4 separate regions of the Homo sapiens genome follow, and all the other regions are linked to region 4. The links are contacts of gene promoters, found by promoter capture Hi-C in blood cells and fetal thymus (Javierre and others, 2016). All regions are on one chromosome and are shown on one strand. Each heading gives the region's core, a stretch centred on a gene start or on the middle of the fragment in contact. The rest is flanking DNA. Distances are from core to core; before and after follow the strand shown.

The links. The method cuts DNA at HindIII sites, captures the fragments that hold promoters and counts their contacts. A CHiCAGO score of 5 or more calls a contact.
Region 1: a contact is called between the fragment with the promoter of ZNF444 here and the fragment with the promoter of CTU1 in region 4, in 3 of 17 cell types (naive CD8 T cells, non-activated CD4 T cells and activated CD4 T cells). The highest score is 7.0, in naive CD8 T cells.
Region 2: a fragment that was not itself captured here is called in contact with the fragment with the promoter of CTU1 in region 4 in 3 of 17 cell types (total B cells, naive B cells and activated CD4 T cells); the score reaches 8.3 in total B cells.
Region 3: the fragment with the promoter of ZNF787 here is called in contact with the fragment with the promoter of CTU1 in region 4 in 4 of 17 cell types (activated CD4 T cells, non-activated CD4 T cells, total CD4 T cells and 1 more); the score reaches 11.1 in activated CD4 T cells.

What each region holds. Positions count from the first base shown.
Region 1 is chr19:56,138,102-56,142,912 of GRCh38, forward strand. ZNF444 (zinc finger protein 444) reads left to right here and starts at 3,186. Exons shown (of 5, transcript NM_018337.4): 1 at 3,186-3,256. RefSeq lists enhancers at 2,649-2,978, 3,009-3,148. The HindIII fragment of the contact is 17,292 bases long and covers 1-4,811 here.
Region 2 is chr19:44,503,063-44,507,883 of GRCh38, forward strand. CEACAM20 (CEA cell adhesion molecule 20) reads right to left here. Exons shown (of 12, transcript NM_001102597.3): 12 at 3,097-3,152. The coding sequence ends at 3,099. Among named protein-coding and RNA genes, the nearest start is that of ZNF180, 5.0 kb to the left of the region's middle. The HindIII fragment of the contact is 5,114 bases long and covers 1-4,146 here.
Region 3 is chr19:56,118,887-56,123,892 of GRCh38, forward strand. ZNF787 (zinc finger protein 787) reads right to left here and starts at 2,409. Exons shown (of 3, transcript NM_001002836.4): 1 at 2,286-2,409. It overlaps LOC124904772 (a long non-coding RNA gene), which reads left to right and starts at 2,724. Exons shown (of 2, transcript XR_007067348.1): 1 at 2,724-3,046; 2 at 4,634-5,006. RefSeq lists enhancers at 1,454-1,748, 2,176-2,891 and silencers at 1,496-1,545, 1,626-1,945, 2,236-2,315, 2,326-2,445, 2,536-2,905. The HindIII fragment of the contact is 11,888 bases long and covers 1-5,006 here.
Region 4 is chr19:51,105,515-51,110,300 of GRCh38, forward strand. CTU1 (cytosolic thiouridylase subunit 1) reads right to left here and starts at 2,895. Exons shown (of 3, transcript NM_145232.4): 1 at 2,833-2,895. RefSeq lists an enhancer at 2,861-3,190. The HindIII fragment of the contact is 4,633 bases long and covers 1-4,457 here.

The DNA.
Region 1 (4,811 bases), core at 1,936-4,435, 5.0 Mb after region 4:
TGACGAGAAGGAAAACTCCATCTTAAAAAACAAAATTCCTCTGATAAATGGGTAAACAAAATATGGTCTGTGTATGCAACAGAATATTAGGCAATCTTTAAAAGGAAGGAGATTTTGACATACACTACAACATGGATTAACCTTGAGGACATTCTGCCAAGTTAAATAAGTCAGTCACAAAAAACAAATACGGTATGATTCCACTTACATGAAGTATTAATGTGGTCAAAATCACAGAAACTGGGCTGGGCATGGTGGCTCACACCTGTAATCCCAACACTTTGGGAGGCTGAGGCAGGTGGATCACTTGAGACCAGGAGTTTAAACCCAGCCTGGGTAACATGGCAAAACGCTGTCCCTACAAAAAAAAGAAAAAAAAAAATTAGCTGGGCGTGGTTGTGTGCACCTGTAGTCTCAGCTACTCGGGAGGCCAATGTGGGAGAATCCCTTGAGCCTGGGAAGCAGAAGTCACAGTGAGCCAAGACTGAGCCACTGGACTCCAGTCTGGCCAACAGATTCAGACCCTGTCTCAAATAAATAAATTACAGAAACTGATAACAGAATGGTGGTTGGCCAGGAGCTCGGGGGAGAGAGGAATGGGTGGTTCACATTTAATGGGTACAATTTCAATTTGGGAAGATGAAAAATTCGGGAAATGGACAGTAGTGATGATTGCACAGCTTGAATGTACTTTTTTTTTTTTTTTTTTTTTTGAGACAGAGTCTGACTCTGTTGCCCGGACTGAAGTGCAGCGGTGCAATCTTAGCTCACTGCAACCTCCACCTTCCAGGTTCAAGAGATTCTCTGGCCTCACCCTCCCGAGTAGCTGGGATTACAGGTGCCCGCCACCATGCCCAGCTAATTTTTGTATTTTTAGTAGAGACGGGGTTTCACCATGTTGGCCAGGGTGGTCTCGAACTCCTAACTTCTGATCCGCACGCCTCGGTCTCCCAAAGTGCTGGGATTACAGGCGTGAGCCACCACACCCGGCCTAGCTTGAATGTACTTAATGCTACTGAACTGTACCTTAAAAATGATTAAGATGGTAATTTTTATCTTGTATATATTTTACCACAATTAAAAAAAAAAGATCCCTTTGGCGCTGTGTGGAGCAGGAACTGAGGGGCAGGAGGCAGAAGAGGCGAGAGTGGAAGCATGACAGTGTCTAAAGAGGCCATGGGGACTTAAACCAGGTGGTAGCCATAGACGGGAGAGCTGTGGACAGATTCTGCATCTATTTTGAAGACAGAGCCAATAGGACCTGATGATAGATTGCATGTGGATGGTGATGAAAAAGAGGAATTGGCTGGGCATGGTGGTTCACGCTTGCAATCACAGCATTTTGGGAGGCCGAGGAGGCAGATCACTTGAGGCCAGGAGTTCGAGACCAGCCTGGCCAACATGGCAAACCCCATCTCTATTAAAAATACAAAAATTAGCTGGGCATGGTGGTGCACGCCTGTAGTCCTGGCTACTCAGGAGGATGCAGCATGAGAATCACTTGAGACTGGGAGTCGGAGGTTGCAGTGAGCTGTGATCGCACCACTGCACTCCAGCCTGGGCAACACAGCCAGACCCTGTATCAAAAAACAAAACAAAACAAAACAAAAAACCAAAAAAAAAAAAAGAAAAAAGAATCAAGGGCTGCTTTTCTATTTTTGGCCTCAACATTTGGGTGAAGATGGACTTGCTTTCTAAGATGGTGGAGTAATGGGAAGGAACAAATTTCTTCGCAAGGTGGGGGAGAGAGTGAAAAATTATCTACTGCCCACCTTAGGTTTGAGATGCCTATTAAGAAATCCAAGAGGAGATGTCAAGTAGGCCATCGGATATGAGTGGGAAGAAGATCAGCGTGCTCTAGGAGCAGAAAGGAGGCATGACTGGAACTCATTAAACACGAGGAGAAGACAGTGGTAGACAGGTGGGCCAGGGCAGATTAGGCCACCGTGGGCAAACTGGTCACAAAGTTCTGAGTCAGCCACTCATCGCTTGTGAAACCTGGGGAAAGTTGTTCATTTATGAATATAAGACGAACAACTTCCATGTAATGAATGCTTGTTATGGGTAAGCCACTGTCTTCGTTTTTATGGCGCGGAGTCTTCAGATCAGCCGGGGAGGTGGAGGATGGGAGGGGGATTCTCTTATCCTTGTTGTACGGAGGAGGAAATACGCTGCGGGCTGGGGTAGGGCTTGTATGAGCCATAATCAGGTCTGGAACTGTCTAGATAAAAACTTCAGCTGATCTCTTAGGATGTCTGTCTGCTCTAAAATCCAAATATGCTTCTTCACAGTTCTGAGATGCAGAAACTGAGGCCTCAGGACGGGGCAGTAGTCTGTCCAATAGGGGCACAGCGAGGACGCGTGGCAGGTAGCGCTGTCCCCCAATTCACCCCAGGGGAAACTGAGGCTAAAGAGAGGGCGGTGTCCTGTCCAGGTTCACACACAGGAAGAGCCAAACCGAGGCCCCCGCGCTGGCCCCCTCCTGAGCCACTGCCCACCCCGGAACAGGAGGGCAGCCTGCTCACGTCCTGATTCCTGGCACCGACATCGGCCCTTAAGTTCTGCCCGGGTGGAGAGGGAGGACAAAAAAAAATGCGATCCGTAGTCAAGGAGACGTAGCCTGCACTCCTGATTGGCGCAGAACTCTAGCCTGGTCTCCTCCTCCTCCTCCTCTTCGCTTGCCAGCTTCTAGAGCTCCGGAGGCCCCACCTCCCAAATGCCCGGCGGTGCCCGGCCTCCCCTGATCTCCACAACAACGCCGCCATGGCTCCTCCTCCTCCTCCCTCTTTTTTTCCCGGCACTTCTGCGCATGTCCAGGGCCCGCGCGCAGACCACTGGGAAGCCTCCTCGTGCATTCTGGGAAATGTAGTCCAAAGCCTGTCGCGCTCAGACAGCCCGCGACATTTGCGCCGTCAAGGCCAAATAGGCTGCAGACGACGCTTTCGCGTATCTTGGGAAATGTAGTTCCAGTGTTGGCGAAGACGCCACGCGGTGACAAACAGGAGTAAGGCGGTCCCCAGGCGAGGGCCAATTGGCAGCCGCCTTTGCCGCGATGCTTCCTGGGAGTTGTAGTTCGGGGTGAGGCCGGGGCTTCATGGGGAGTTGTTGGGCTGAACGAGCGGCTCGGAGTATGGGATTGGGGGAGGGGGACGGGGGAGTTTGGCGCAAAGCCTGCTGGGGCATGGAGTCCCGGCGAGCTTTGTGCGCATGTGCGGGGAGGTGAGGGGGCTTGGGGGGCCTCGCCTGAGAGAGTGAGGTGAGCGAGGGGGGAAGGAGGGAGGGATTGGGTGGGGGCGGTTGGACGAGGGAGGGACCAGAGGTTGGATGGGAAGAGGGGCGCCGGGGGCCTCAGGAGGGAAAGATGGGAGACTTGCGGGGAGGGGAGGAGAAGGGGGCTGAGTGATGGGGAAGGGGCTGGGAGAGGGAACTAGAGGGGGAGGGACTTGGAGAGGGGGAGGGGTGGATAGTGGGAGGGGGTCGTGGATCCTCGAGGTCCTGAACGCGGGAGAGAAATGCTGAGGGAGAGGACGGGGGAGGGGCGCCTGGGGGAGGGGGAGGGGCGGGACGGGGGAGGGACAGGTGGGGGAGGGGAAGGGGACCCTAGCAGAGGGTGGGCTGTGAGATGAAAGCTGAGTGGGAAGCTGGACCCTACAAAGGAGTCTGGGGGCGCCGGGACCGGACCCCTTCGGAAAGGTTTGCGGGAAGGGGCTTCCGGGGACGATGGTTATTGTTGTAACGTAGATACGGCGCAGGTGGCTCGTTTTGCGCGCTGCTTCTACAAGTGCAACTTTTACAGAGTTGTGAGATTCCTGAAGATAAGAATCGTTGCTCTGTTTTGCTGCTTTCTCAGTGCGGAGCATCTGCCTTTTTAGCTTGTTGCAAGGCATTATTACCTTCGGTAATATGTGTAAAGTGCTTAGAAACTCTGTTTATTGTCAAATGAAGTTGACCCCCGCCACCTCTACCCCAGTCAGGATGGAGTCACCCTCCTCTATATCCGATTTTAACGCCTATTCCAATGTATACTTAGTATTTTAATCTGCGTGCGTGTTCATAGCAGTGTCCCCTGGGCACCTCGCAGGGAAACTTCGACAAAGTAACCCTAAGTCTGACTGGACACTTACTAGCCAGGTGTGGTTCTCAGCATTTTTGTTCTCCTTCTATCACTTTACAGTCAACGAAATGGAGATACAGGGTATTACAAAAGGTGCCTTGTACCTCGTCCAAGGACACAGAGCTGGTAGGAGGCAGAGCTGGAATTTGCCCCAGAGCCTTTGTGCCGTAGGTAAATATTTGTCCAGTGGGCCAGCGGCTCTCAACCAGGAGTGGTTTTGTCCCCCAGGGGACATGTGGCAATGTCTGGAGACTTTTTTTTTGGTTTTTCCAACTTGGGAAGTGCTACTGGCATCTCATGAAAAGAGGCAGAGATGCTGGTAGACATCGTATGTTGCACAGGATAGCCCGCCACGACACAAGTGCCATTAATGTCGAGGTTGGGAACCTAGAGTAGACAAACCGGTCTTTGTCGAGCACTTAGCCTTTGGAGGCTGCTTCTAACTCCTGCTCCCAGCAGCCTCTTGAGAGGAAGGAGCTCTTGTTAGTCCTGTGTCTCAGGTGGAGAAATGAAGCACAGAGGGGGTAAGTCACACGTCCACAGTCACACTGCTGATGAGTGGCAGAGCTGGAAGTTGAAGCCAGGCAGCCAGACTCCACAGCCTCTTAGCCATGATATTAACCCAGCATATGTGGGTGCTGGTGCCGGGGTACTAGGTGGAACTGGTGTGGACTCTGGAGTCACATCTGGGTCCCAT
Region 2 (4,821 bases), core at 340-2,839, 6.6 Mb before region 4:
GGCAAAACTCTGTGTCTACTTAAAAAATACAAAAATTAGACAGGCATGGTGATGCACGCCTGTAATCCCAGCTACTCAGGAGTCTGAGGCAGAAGAATCGCTTGAACCTGGGAGGCAGAGGCTGCAATGAGCCAAGATCACGTTGCTACACTCCATCCTGGGCAACAGAGCAAGACTCCATCTCAAAAAAAAAAAACAATTTTCAGAAAATAAAGCGTTAGTACTATGTAATGTAAAACTGACTTTGTTTATCTGTCTTTTGTTTAGTCTTTTTTATTTTCTTTCACAATGAACAAGGTGGTAATGTTTACTTCCAGGAACCTATAAATCCTGACTTAACCTGAATATTACAGGGACTTTAGAAGAGTTACCACTGCTGGGCGCAGTGGCTCACGCCTGTAATCCCCACACTTTGGGAAGCCGGAGCAGGAGGATCACTTGAGCCCAGGAGTTTGAGACCAGCCTGGGCAACATGGTGAAACCCCGTCTCTACAAAAAATACAAAAATTAGCTGGGCCTGGTGGCACAAGCTGTAGTCCCAGCTACTCAGGAGGCTGAGGCAGGAAGGATTGCCTGAGCCCAGGAAGCAGAGGTTGCAGTGAACCAAGATTATGCTACTACACTCCAGCCTCAGCGACAGAGCCAGACCCTGTCTCAAAATAAATAAATGAATAAATAAAAATTTTAAAGAGTTACCACTCAGGAACATTCTAGAAAGATGCCTATCTAATCTAGAGATTTATCTGTCAACTGTCGGGAAGAGCTGAGACCAAAGTTTATATTAAGATTCTGTTTATTGGCCATGAATTGGATAAGGGCTCAAGATACAGTGAAGAGCAAGAAGATTATGAATCCATTTACTATAAATACTAGAAAACAAAGTAAGAGTAACGAGAGGGTAAAAGGGCATGATCTGTCTCTAGGATGTCAGGGGGAGGGGGACATTTCTTGGCAGGGAAGAGGAAAGTTCTCAGGGTTCAAATAGGGTGGTGTTTCTGGTACTACTGAGTGCAACCCTTAAGATCCTAATTCCGGTCTCTTGTATCACATCTAATGATTAATTTTTAAAATCTGAATTAATGTTATCATCATTATGATAGCCATTCAGCTCCAAGGATAGCAACAACGCATTCTGAAAACTCTTCATTTCCAGGAGTTTTCAGTGTTGGTTTCCCCCTGTGTTAACAGTCCTTTTTTGTCTCCTTTGCTTGATCTCTCCTGTAAACATCAGAGGAACCCAGGAATCAGCTGTCAGCCTGTCCCTTGCCTTGTCTTCATCCACTCTGCTTGGGGTTGACATAACAGGCCTATTGCTCAAACTCTGTAAGTTCCCCAGAAGGTCCTGTTTTCCTGACTAGCCTTTGGGCAGCTCTGGGAACTGAGCTCTCATAATGTTCTATCTGGTAAGAGTGCTTTTGTTTGCCTGAGGCCTTGAGCCATGCTGTACCACTTTGTCCAGATGGTTTATACTAACAGTGTAATTTATGGAGGAACATCTGCTTTCCTTCTAGGAGTCTGGAGCTTCAGTGACTGACCCTTTATAAAAACCATGGACACCCAGGTTTAGGTGAGCTTCCCTCGATGGCAATGCTTCACACACGTTGTCACACATCATTGCTGGGGGATTTCCCATGTGCTGTGGTTTGGATATTTGTCTCCTCCAAAACTCATGTTGAAACTTAATCCCCAGTGTGGCAATATTGAGAGGTGGGGGTTTTTAAGAGGTGATTGGCTCATGAGGGTTTTGCCTTCATGAATGGATTAATCCATTCATGGACTAATGGATTAACGGGTTATCATGGGAGTGGAACTGGTAGCTTCATAAGAAAAGAAAGAGAAACATGAGCTAACATGTTACCACACTCAGTCCCCTTGGCATGTGATTCCCTGCACCACTTCAGGACTCCACAGAGAGTCCCCACCAGCAAGAAGTGCTCTCACCAGATGCAACCCCTAGACCTTAGACTTCTAAGCCTCCATAACTGTAAGAAATAAATTTCCTTTTTAAAACAAATTACCCAGATTTAGATATTCTGTTATAGGCCAAAGAAAGCAGACTAATACACCATGTGACTCCACTGAAAGAGAACACTTGGAAGCTGGTGCAGGGTATCCTCCAGACTTCACCCCATGCACCTTTTCCCTTTGCTAATTTTATTCTCCATCCTTTTGCTGTAATAAACTATAACCATGAGTATAACAATTGGGTCCTATGAATTCCTCTAGAAAATCTTTGAGCATGAGGTGGTCTTGGGGACCCCCCTGACAGAGGAGCTCATCCAGCCCCATAACTTTAAGTCCCACTGACAACTCTCAAATGTGTATCTCCAGCCATGATCTGTCTAGATTTTTATGAACAATTGCCTACTTGATTCTGCAACTGATTCTTGACATGTCTAAATTCTTGACATGAAGCAAATTCTTTATTTCTCTCCTTATCCCAAAGTTTCTCAGAAAGTGACCTGCCAATCATCCAGTTGCCCTGGCAAGAAACCATGGAGATATCCTTGTCTCCTAACTCTCTTTACCTTCAGCAAATCTCATTCTGACTCTCTCCGCCCCTGCAGTTCTCAGGATTCTAAGCATTTCATGCCTACCTCTCCTCAGGAGCCTCAATCCCTCACTTCACTACGTGTTTTCTCCTTTTATTAAGAGCTCTTAATTTCTTAAGAGCTCCTTGTTCCTTATCTTCTATCATGATTTGAAAAGCCACTTCTTCTCTGACACCTGTCTTTGTCCCCTACTCCTCTCTGGCTGACTCAGACTCACTCTTCTCTCTGGAGTCCACCAACAGTGTTTGCTCATCCTCAGCCTGCAACTATGATATCCTAAGCTGTTCAGTCTCAAACCTTGGTCCTCTAACTCTAGATCCACGGGCTGTCATTTTTACCCTTACTATTGCTTTGAAAAAAAATATGAGTCAAAATCTAAGATTCTATGGAAGCCAGGGCCTGACCAACCCATTGCAGTAGAACATCACAAGGTCTACAGAGATGACAGAGAATGACTGGCTTATAATATGCACTTAATAAATGTCATTAAATATATGATCAAGCATGGTTTCTCTAGGACTCCTGGAGAAAAGATCTCTGCTTCCATTAGACGGAGGGGTTGATTTGGATGTAAGTGTTGGGCTCTGGATTCACAAGCTCCTGTTAAACAAAGAGAAAATGTGAGCTCCATTTGCTAGGTGGACCCTCCCAGTCTACTCACTGTAGTCTGGGGCCCAAACAGCCTGGAGCTTTCCTTTCTTTGGAAATTCCAAAAATCTTCCTCCATTCTCATCACACTTTAGTAACCCTGGCACATCTCTGTTCCTGGAATGGCCCATGTACTTCCCCACTGTGGTAAACAGACTCTAAAGTGGTCCCCATAATCCCTGCCTCCTGGTATTCATTCCTTTATGTAATCTCCTCCCCTTGAGGGCAAGACCTGTGACTTGCATCTAACCAATAGAATATGGCAAAGGTGGCAGGATATACATGATTGCATGTATGTGATTCTGTTACATAAGATTATGACTTCTGTCTTGGCTTGAAGAAGCAAGATGCAATGTTGTGAGCTGCCTGTGGAGAGGGCCACATGGCAAAGAACTGAGGATGACCTCCAGCTGACAGTAAGAAACTGAGGCCCTCATTATGACAGCCTGCAAGGAACTGAATGCTGCTAATGACCACATGAGCTTGGAAGTGGATCCATCCCCAGCTGAGCCTCAGATGAGACCTGGGCTTTGACTGGCACCTTGATTATACAGCCTTGCAGAAGAGCTAACTAAGCAATGCCTGAACTCCTGACCCACAGAAACTGTGAGATAATGAATTCATGTTGTTTTAAGCTGCAAAGTCTGTGGTAATTCATTATACAGCAACTGATAACTCTACACCCTCTTCAGGGCCTTTTTTACTGATGCCTCTCAAGTTGGAATGTTTCCTTTCATACTGTTTGCATGGTTTGCTCCTTCTAATCCCTCCAGAATGTAGCAGACACTGAGTTCACTGAGTTGACTGACCTAACCTTCTTCCCCACACCACCTCCCTTGCTTGCTTCTATTGAAGAGGCTGGGAATGTTAATGTACCACTTTCTCAGCCTCTGTTGCTACAAGGAGCACCATATGACCTTATTCTGGCTAATGAGATATAAGAGGAAGCTTACTAGGTGGTATTTCTGGGAAGACCTTTTGCCCGACTAATAATAGGAAACAAACATGGCTCCCCTACGCAGACACTGGTGAAGAGAGGGACTTAGGTGGCTAAGTTTTTACCAGTTCAAAGCTGATTAGAGAGCTGACAAAACTAAACATGATCCATACCATGGCCTGAATCAATCTGATTCTTCTATGGAGAATTTGAACCTAGAAATGCTTAAAGGGCAGCAGAAGATGTTGTTATATATACTCTGAAGTTATAGAGAAGCAATGACCAGGACATTTACATAGAAATTCAATCTGGATTGAGAAGAATGAGATGAATTCATAGATTAGTGAAAATGAGAAACTGTATAATAAGAGAGAAACAGCTTCTTGATAGCATTCAAGTCGCCAAGAGGCCCAGGAGTAATTTCTGAAATTGAGTTATCTGATATTTCTCAGTGTTCTCTCAATTAATCCCCATTCGAACTACATTCAAAGGGTTTAACTTTCTTAACATTAAAAATTCTTGACTAAGATATTAATATATGAAACATTCAGCCAGGTGCAGTGGCTTGCGTCTGTAATCCCAATACTCTGGGAGGCCAAGGTGGGATGATCGCTTGAGCCCAGGAATCTGAGGCTGCAGTTGGCCATGATCGCACTACTGCACACAACCTGGGTGAAAGAGCAA
Region 3 (5,006 bases), core at 1,159-3,658, 5.0 Mb after region 4:
GCCATTCCCTGCCCAGAGCCCACTGTCATCCTCCCTTAAGTACCAGGTTCCTGGTAGCCAATCCTTCCTCTCTATCTTTCAAGACACAATACCTCCCCTGCACCACACACCCCTCCCTCAAGGTCAGAGCTCCCGGGAGCACTCTGGCAAATCTCCCCACCCCTCTGCCCAGTGTGAATGGGTCTCAGCTGCTCTGGGACAGGGACTGTATGATTCCTGCCAGGCTGCCCAGCACGGAGCACCACTCTACCTTGTGCTTGCACAGAAGGGCCTTGAGATCCCTCTCTTCACCCAGGCTGGGCCAGGCACCTCATCTGGGCCCTCACAGGACAGTGCTGTGCCAAGACCATGTGTGACCTCATGCCCAGCACAGGGCCTGGCCTGTGCAGCCGCCTGGATGGATTACATTTACTCAGGGAATTGTGAACTTGCTCTCGTTTTTAGACAACTGAAGGGAAATTGAACCTGGGAAAAGGGAAGTGACATGTCCAAGGTCACAGAAGTGGAAGAGACAGTGCCAAGGCCAAGGCCCAGGAAAGGGCCTGGCTCCAGAGCCCTTTCCATTTACTTTACACCCATCTGTTGAGGTCTGCTCTGGCTCTAAAATGAAAGCATTAAGAGCCTTCCCGCTGAGGTCAATACTATTATTACCACTCCCACTCTGTCCTGGTGGAAAGTAAGGCACTGAAGTTACTCGTCTAAGGCCACGAAGGTGAGTGGTGGGGCTGGGACTTGAACCCAGGCCTGCCCAGTCCCAGAGCTCTTGGGGAATACAACCCAGTGCCTGCACACACTCTGGCAGTGCACCAGGGAGGGGCCAGGCCGGGTGCCCGGATGGATGGATAAGACATGAGATAAGCAAGCAGGAATCTGATCTGGATGTTCTCTGAGGCCGTGCGTGGCCGGAGGACCACAGGGACTGCGCAGAGGCAGGCAGGTGAATGTCAGCAGCGTTTAGCCAAAGAGGCTTACGGTCTTCAGAGGAGCTAAGCCAGGATCAACGCAACTGTGCTTCCCGGCGCTGGGGTCAATCGGATCCCCAGATGGGTTCTAAGCACTGCGCAACATGGGACCTGGGAGCAGGACACCGCAAAGAGCAGACCAAGCCATTCCTTCCCTAAAGCCCTGACCATCCCCCGGACTGGGCTGGGTCAAAATGCCTTCCCTGGCTCCCACAGCCCCCAGACCTCTCCATCAGGGGTCTGGTCACCTTGGATGGCGACTCTGTCGCCCGGGTCTCAGTCTCTGCCTTCCACCCAGACTCCAAGCCCTTGTTCATCTCCCTGCTCCCTGTCTCTAGTGCCCGGCACAGGGCCTGGCACTGGAAAAACTTCTGCCTCCACTCACTCCTGCCTTCTGTGTCTGTGGGTCACTTTTCTGTGCGACTCTGCAGGTCCCAGAGCACTCATCCACATGAATTGGGGTCAGCTCCCTGGACTGGGGGTCGGGGTGGGGTGTCAGGAGGGCGGGGCTCCACTCTGATCCACTCGGCACAGGGGAGGGAGGCCTCAGGAGTCGCCACCCGATCCAGTCCCCGCCTTCGCCCTGCCCCGTGGGCCACGCGGTGGCTGACCTTGGCCCAGTCACTTCCCCCGCTGGGGACGCGCTTCCTCCCCGCCTGCCGAGCAAGGACGAATGAATGGGCCTCCTGCCGGCCAGAATCCCCGTAATTACCCGCCTGATCAAAGGCCACGCGCAGCCCGCCCGGGGCAGCAACGGGACCCGGGCTGACTCGAAAAGGGGAAGGAAGGGCTGGGGGGGCCGAGGGCTGAGACCGTGCCCTCGGGGCCGCGGTATCCGGCCAGGCCAGCCCAACCGCGCGGCCCCTTCCCCCACCTGGGCCTCAACTTCCCCCCGAAGTCGCCACCACTTCCGGCCACGACCGGCGGAGTTGGAACTTCGGGGGGACGGACAGCGGCCCCACCCCCGACGGCCCGCAGCAGAGGGACCCCCACCGAGGCCCCCGCTCCTGCCCCCGCCACGCGCACGCGCGCGCCCTGGACCCGGACCCGCGCACGCGCACCCCCCCTCCAGCCCCGCTCGCCGCCCGCGGGCCGCCCGGGCGCGCGTCCCCTCCCACAGCTCTTCGGCGCGCACGCGCACTCCCCCCGCCCGCGTCACCCCGGCCGCGCGCCCACTCACGCCCCCCCAGCAGCGCGCACGCGCGCCCGCCGCCCAGTCGCGCTCGCCCTCCAGTCTCCCCACCCACCCCCAGCCCAAGCCCAGCTTCCCGAAGCGCGCGCCCACCTGGCCCCCAGCGCACGGCCCCCGCCCCCACCCCTCACCTCCTTGGTCCCGGGGCCGCCGCGCCGCACTCCTCCTCCTCTCTCCTGCCTCGCGGATGGTGGCAGCGGCGGCAGCGGCGACTCAGACCCTGGGGTCAGGGGGACGGGCGCCCAGGCCGGAAGTGACCTTCCCGGCCGCTTCCGCCCGCGCCGCTCCCCCCCTTCTCCCTACTCCCTGCCCCCCGGGCCGCCACCCTGTCCTCGCCGCTCTAGGAAGGCGAGCCCGCTATCCCGGCCACCGCCCCCAGCTCTGTGGTGCCCGGCGGGCGCCTGAGGGAGCCACTTCCGGAAGTGTCTAGGACGCAGGTCCTCCGTCCATGCTCTATGGCGCCCCGCGCCGAGGGGCTTCGGCCCCGCCCCCTTCCCGGACAGGAGGTGCGGGCTGGGCCCGTTAGGCGGAGACTTCCGGGTGTCTAGGGCGGTGCCCCCCCGACAACCCGGGCTCCTCGCGCCTGCGCGGCCGGGTCCCCGGGCCCGCCGTGAGGAGAGTGAAGTGGTGGAGAGGGACGCTCGTGCCACCCCGGGTCCTCCTACCGTCTCTATCATGGTAACCCCTTCTCTGCCGCTGCACCTCCCAGTGGCCCGAGTCCAGGTGCCTTAGTTACTGGACAGAGACCCCGGGTTCCTTAGTTACTGGACAGAGAGTGCTGCGCTTCAGGTGCCATGGCCTCAGTTTCCTCCTTTCTGAAGTGATGAAAATACATTGTGCGCCTCCAAGTGCTTCACACGCACTAGGTCCTAGTCCTAACTAGGGCCTCATGGTAGGTCCTATCCCTATGTTGCAGGTGAGGAGTCAAATCACCTACCAAAAGTCACACACCCGGAATGCCAGAGCCTCGGCCCGAACCCATGGAGTTTGGCTCTAAATTCGTGTATTTAACCCTTGACTGTACACACTGCCTCGTGTCATAGCCCTGAGAATCCACTACTTCCCCCGCGTTAGGTAGGCACCTAGTAAGGACGCACTGGGTGTTAGCTGTTACTGTTGGTATTCTTGCAAAAAACACATATTTTAAAATAATTGTCCAAACCATAGTGTCCTTGTAGGCTGGTCCTTCTGGTCCTTCCTCTGTTCTGTACTTGGCTGACTCTCACCTAAGTGGCAGATGACTTATCGCTTATAATTGTTATCATCCTCACTGGTAGTCAGAAAAGATAAGAAGCTATAATTCACTGGTGGAATAACACCTTTCTCAGCCTCAATTTCTCATCTGTGGAATGGGAAAAAATAAGATAACCTGCAAGGTAATATGTGTAAGAGCTGCTTAGTTCAATACCTGGCCCATAGTAAGTTCACAAAAATGATGGTGGTTATTATTACCTATTAGCAGTGTTACATATAAGTCTATTGTTGTGGCCACTGTATACCCTCAAAGCTCAGTGAGCATCAATCATAAGATGTATATTATTGATTTAATAACATCTTTCCATGGGGTGGGGTGAACAGTGCTGTGTTAACTGTGTGTGTCAATAGGAGGATATCTGTGTCCCTCCTTCAGAAATATCACAAAGGTAAATTTTTAAATATATCTTAGAACAGAAGGAAGTGTGGCCGGGTGCAGTGGCTGACACCTGTAAATCTCAACACTTTGGGAGGCAGAGGCAGACGTCAGGAGGTCAGGAATTCGAGACTACCCTGGCCAACATAGTGAAACCCCATATCTATTAAAAATACAAAAATTAGCTGGGCGTGGTGGCGGACACCTGTAATCCCAGCTACTCGGGAGGCTGAGGCAGGAGAATGGCTTGAACCTGGGAGGCAGAGGTTGCAGTGAGCTGAGATCGCACCACTGCACTCTTGCCTGGGCGATGGAATGGGACTCCGTCTCAAAAAAAAAAAAAAAAAAAAGAGAGTGAAGTGCTATCATAACAGCAATAGAAACAAATTATTAGGGTACAAACTCTACACGAGGAAACCTGTTTATAAGAAAAGTCATGTGCTTGTGCTCCTCTGAATCAGATCATTCAGTGGGTGTCCTGCAGTGACCTGGTTGTTGGGAGGGACAGCCTCCTCCCTCTCCAGCCCATTCCCCTTCTTCGCTGGTCAAATTGACAACGGCAAGATCGAGAACAGCTCATTGGCACACCAGATGGAAGCCAACACTGAGGATGGAGGAGAAACAAGACACAGGGAGCCAGCTAGACACTGGATGGCTTCGTGAAAGAGGCTCCGTGCCAGCTGAGATTTTATGTGAGAGAAATCACTTTCTAACTCACTGAAACCATTGGTAATTCTGAGTCTCTCCCTTAAGGCAACCCAACCAATACCAGGATGTTTCCCAAACATGGGATGGGTTGCAGCCGACATGGCTTAATTGACAATTAACATCTGTTCTTCCCTTCCGCAGTACAAAATCACTCTTGGGATGCTGCTTCCCATCGATGGATTCTGTTTTCCACTCCTCTTGGCATCTAAGTGTGGCCTTGTGATTGGTTCTCACCAATGGGATGGGATGGAAGCGATACAGGCCTCTTCCGAGCCAATGCTCTTAAGAAACATGTATGTTGGCCAGGCACGGTGGCTCACGCCTATAATCACAGCACTTTGGGAGGCCGAGACGGGAGGATCAGCTGAGTCCAGGAGTTCGAGACCAGCCTGGCCAACATGGCGAAACTCCATCTCTACTAAAAGTACAAAAATTAGCCAGGCGTGGTGGGCGCTTATAATCCCAGCTACTCCGGAGGCTGAGGCAGGAGAATTGCTTGAACCTAGGAGGCAAA
Region 4 (4,786 bases), core at 1,645-4,144:
CATCACCTCCAGCCTGGACTACTGTAGTCACCTCCTTGCCATTCAGAGCAGGTCACGCTGCTTCTAGGATTTACCACAATGTGTGGAATTATTTTATGTGACTATATATTTACCATCTCTAACTTCTATGAGGGCAGAGACCAGTACCACTCAGATGTCTAATAGGCATCTCAAAACCCAAATTCCTGATTCTTCTAACCCAGCGTGCTTCTCCTGGAGTACAGGGCAGCTCCATCCTTCTAGCTGCTCAGGCCAGGAGCTTTGGGGTCCAGGACCCTGGACTGCTCTTTCTCTCACTGCACTTGTCATGCTCCCAGTGGGTGGCACCAAACTGCAATGCCAAGTCCGGACCTTTTCAAACTCCAGGTACCTAAATGAAATTTAGCAAATCCTGTTTGAATGTAGTTTCAAAACAGCCAAACACTTAGGACCGTCTCCACGGCAGCACCCTAGTCTGGTCTGTCTCTCTCCTGGACGGCTGCATGGGGCTCCCCACAGGTCTCCTGCTCCCGCCTTGCCTCCTCTACAAACACTCCTTCACATAACAGCCAGTGGGATCATGCCCTGAATCTTCTCAGCATCCTCCCCTGGATCCCATCTCACTTTAGTATAATAACTGCTAATGGCCGATGAGGCCCTACATGTGTGGCTCCTTGTTTCTCCAACCTCCTCTCCTTCAGCCTTGATGTCGTTTACTCTGACACCTGAGGAATACTCCTGCTCCAGATGTTTGCACTGGCTCTCCCCTCTGCCCTGAGTACTCTTCCTGCCACTGAGCCCAAGAAGCAGCCCTTAGGACTCATCTGCAGTGACCGTCGGGAACATCTGTCACAGGTGAGCAGCAACTCTTGGAATCTTTCTTCCCCCGACTTTTGACTCACTCCTTCTGTGCTCCTGGATTTCCTGCTCAATTCTCTTTTGGGGACGCCTCTTCATGTCCTCAGGTCCTGCCTAGCACCCATCTCTTTCCATTTTTTAAAGATTTTTAATTTAATTTAATTTAATTTTTTGAGATGGAGTCTGGCTCTGTTACCCAGGTGGAATGCAGTGGCACAATCTCGGCTCACTGTAACCTCTGCCTCCCAGGGTCAAGCGTTTCTCCTGCCTTAGCCACCCGAGTAACTGGGACTACAGGCGTGTACCACCATGCCTGGCTAATTTTTTTTTTTTTTTTTGTATTTTTAGTAGAGATGCGGTTTCACCATGTTGGCCAGGCTGGTCTTGAACTCCTGACCTCAAGTGATCCGCCCGCCTCGGCCTCCCAAAGTGCTGGGATTACAGGCGTAAGCCACTGTGCCCAGCTTCTTTCCATTCTTATGAGCGCCTCTGAATCATGATATTCAGATGTCCCTCCTGGCTGGTCCTCCACATGGCTGGGGCACCTTAAAGATGTTCAGACCCTAAGCGCCCAGACAACCTATTTCTTCCTCGAAAGGCAGAAACCTGTTCTTGCCCATCTGTTCCCTCTCTTCTGAGAGCAGCCACCACCTTTCATCCAGCCCATCTGCAGGACAGGACGTAACGTCACCCTGGACTCATCTCTCCTCACCCCCTAAATCTACAGTCACCCAGTCCTGGGGGGTCCACGTCCTGAGGAAGGGAGACGCTCGCAGGGGACAAGGCTGCACAAGTTAGCAGAGCCTCATAGGCCATGATGTGGAATTTTAGGTTTATTCAGGAGGAGATGGGAGCCTTGGGAGGTTTTTGAACAGTAAAGTGGTATGATCTGGCATGTTTTAAAAGGATTCCTAGACTGGTCAACATAGCGAGACCCCATCTCTAAAAAAATAAATAAATAAATTAGCTGCACCTGGTGGCACAGGCCTGTAGTACCAGCTACTCAGGAAGCCAAGGCAGGAGGATCACTTGAGCCCAGGAGGTCAAGGCTGCAGTGAGCCATGATCGCACCAGTGCACTCCAGCGTGGGTGATAGAGTGAGACCTTGTCTCAAATAAAAAAAGTGGGATTCGTTTGGCTGCTGTGTGGGGAGGACTGTTGGTTGTCAGGGACAAGGACAGAAGGCTGGAGGTCAGCACACTAGACAGGAGTGCTGGCAGTAGAGGTGGGAAGAAGTGAAATTTTGGATCTATTTTGAAGGTGGAGCCCACAGGACTTGTATAAGACTGATTGGAGTGGGGACTGGGGCAACGACGAGAGAAAGTGATGAAGGGTAACTTTGAGGTTCTGGCCTGAGCATTGGAGGGACGGTGGGGCCATTTTGTGAGGTGAGAAGACCAGGAATTCCATTTGGCCACGTCAGGTTTGACATGCATGTTAAGCGTCTTCCCTCAAAGACTTTATGGACCCTCGTCACTGAGTCGAGCGCCTCCACCAGGGCCCTCAGAGCTGCCCTGATCCTGACTAGCTGTCACTGGTGACAGGTCTGTCTCTCTGCTTCAAGGCAGGGACAGGGTTGGTCTGGTGCCCTCGCTCCCGCCGCCCTGCGCAGAGTCGGTGCTCAGTAAGTATCTGTAGGATGAGGGAATAATAAGTGCTCCCAGAAGAGAGGCCGCGGACCCCAGGGATGCCTCTGGATTGCAGCCTTGTCAAAAGGACAGATAATGTGTGGCATGGGGGCGGGGACAGGCAGATAGTAACATAGGGGCGGGGGCAAGCAGATGGTCTTATCCTGTCTTGGGGAAGGGAGTGGCCCGGTAAGAGACAGGCCGGACCGCAGCGTTCAAAGTGGGAATCCTGGCTACAAGGCCTCAGGGACACGGGCGCTGGGAAATCACAGAGGCCTTACGCTCGAAGAGACCCTCAACCCTCCCACGGCACCGCAACAAAGAGCCGGAGTCCACATGCCGACCCACCGCAGGAGGAAATACTCACCCGGGCAGAACTCAGTGCTGGGATGCCCACACTGCCCACCACGCGGAAGCCTGGCCCGGAAGTGACTCCGAGACTACCACTCCCATAAGGTCTTGGGGCTTTCTTGCCTAGAACTCCCAGAAGCCCATGCGACACTTCCGCTGGATGCGCCTACGGCTCCGGGGTCCCGCTTGGCCTACAACTCCCAGAAACACTTGCATTGCTCTTTCTGCCGCTCCCAAAATACACTGCTCCCCCTCCCCCCGCGTTTACTTTCTGCGCCTGCGCGCGGCCGCAGGGAGCGGCGGAGCTGCGTGTACTGTTGTCATGGCAGCGCGCTGTCACCCGGCAGGTTGCTGGATGGGCGAAGTAGTTGTATTCTGATTAACTGATTTTGTGGGATTATTATAGGATTTTAAGGGGATTACAGGGCCTATGATTTCTGCCCTTTGAGGCGGGGTTGCGGGTGGGAATTGAAGGTGGAACTGCAGGGGTTGGTCGCTAGTGTAAAAGGCGCAGATAGCGCATGCGTAGAGCAGACTTCGAGGATTGGAGTGGAACTCCGCGCGCACGCGGGGGCTGTCGTGATGCGCGTGCTGGAGACCCAGACTCTAAACAGAAGGATCCAAAGACCCTTCTCACCTAACCCAGGAGCCCAGAGGCTCAGAGACTCAGACCCTTGAGACTAAGGGGGTTAAAAACGCAGACCCCTGGCACCAAAGCACCTGAGAGAACCAGTAGACCTGGAGACAACCGTCTGCACCCTAGACACAGGGATCTGGAGGCCTCCACCCTCCCCACAAGGCCCAAGGGTCTTGAAGACCCCGGTGACTCAAATACCGGGGCACAAGGAGTTTAAGGACTCAGATATCTGAGACCCTTGAGATCCAGGTCCCCAAACCTAGGTCCTCGAAAAAACTGAGGCTCAAAATTCCTCTAGACGGCGCGGTGGCTTACACCTGTAATCCCAGCACTTTGGGAGGCCGAGGCGGGTGGATCACGAGGTCAAAAGATGGAGACCATCCTGGCCAACATGGTGAAACCTCATCTCTACTAAAAATACAAAAATTAGCTGGGCGTAGTGGTGCGCGCCTGTAGTCCCAGCTACTCGGGAGGCTGAGGCAGGAGAATGGCTTGAACCCAGAAGGCAGAGGTTGCAGTGAGCCGAGATCGCGCCACTGCACTCCAGCCTGGCCACAGAGTGAGACTCTGTCTCAAAAAAAAAAAAAAAATCCTCTAGATTAAGGGACCACCAGAGCCTTAGACTGAGATGTGGAGATGTGCAGAGAGCCCCAGGATGTGTAGGTCTACGGCCGGTGATGACGTGAGAAGGAACCCCATGCACCCTGTAGCCCATTTTTTTCCCCCATAACAGGAAACCATGATGCCTTCCTTTCATATTAAATGAGCTCCGTGAGGTCACTCTTAAGCCTTATCATGGGCCAGTTCTGTTCATCTGTGTGCGTTGGTTCATTTGTTGAATTTATTTCCTGAGGTCTCCTTGTGCCAGGCTGCCCCTGGGCTAGGTTTAGGTGACACAAATGAATCAGACTTGGTTACTGTCCTCTGAGCATCCCCCACCCCTTACACCACCACCCTGTCCTCCTGGTGGGGGAGACAGGGACTTAGTCAATATGGAGTGATAAAGCTTGACATGGAAGTGTTAAGAGCCTTGAAAGCTCAATTTCAATCACTGCCAGCCAGGGTGTCAGAAAAAAAAAAAATTCAACAAAGGCTGCTATGTGCCATGCATCATCTCAGTTTGTTCATCTGTGAAAGGGGGGCAATAATAGCCTGCCTCATAGGATTTATGCGAAGTCAAATTGAATTAACAACACCTCTAAAGAATTTAGAACAGCTTCTGGCACATAGTATGTGCTCAACAAGTGGTTATTATTCTCATCTCAATTCTCATAACATTAAGATTATATGTTACATATGAGTTGGGTACAACTGTAATTCTTCTTCTTCTTTT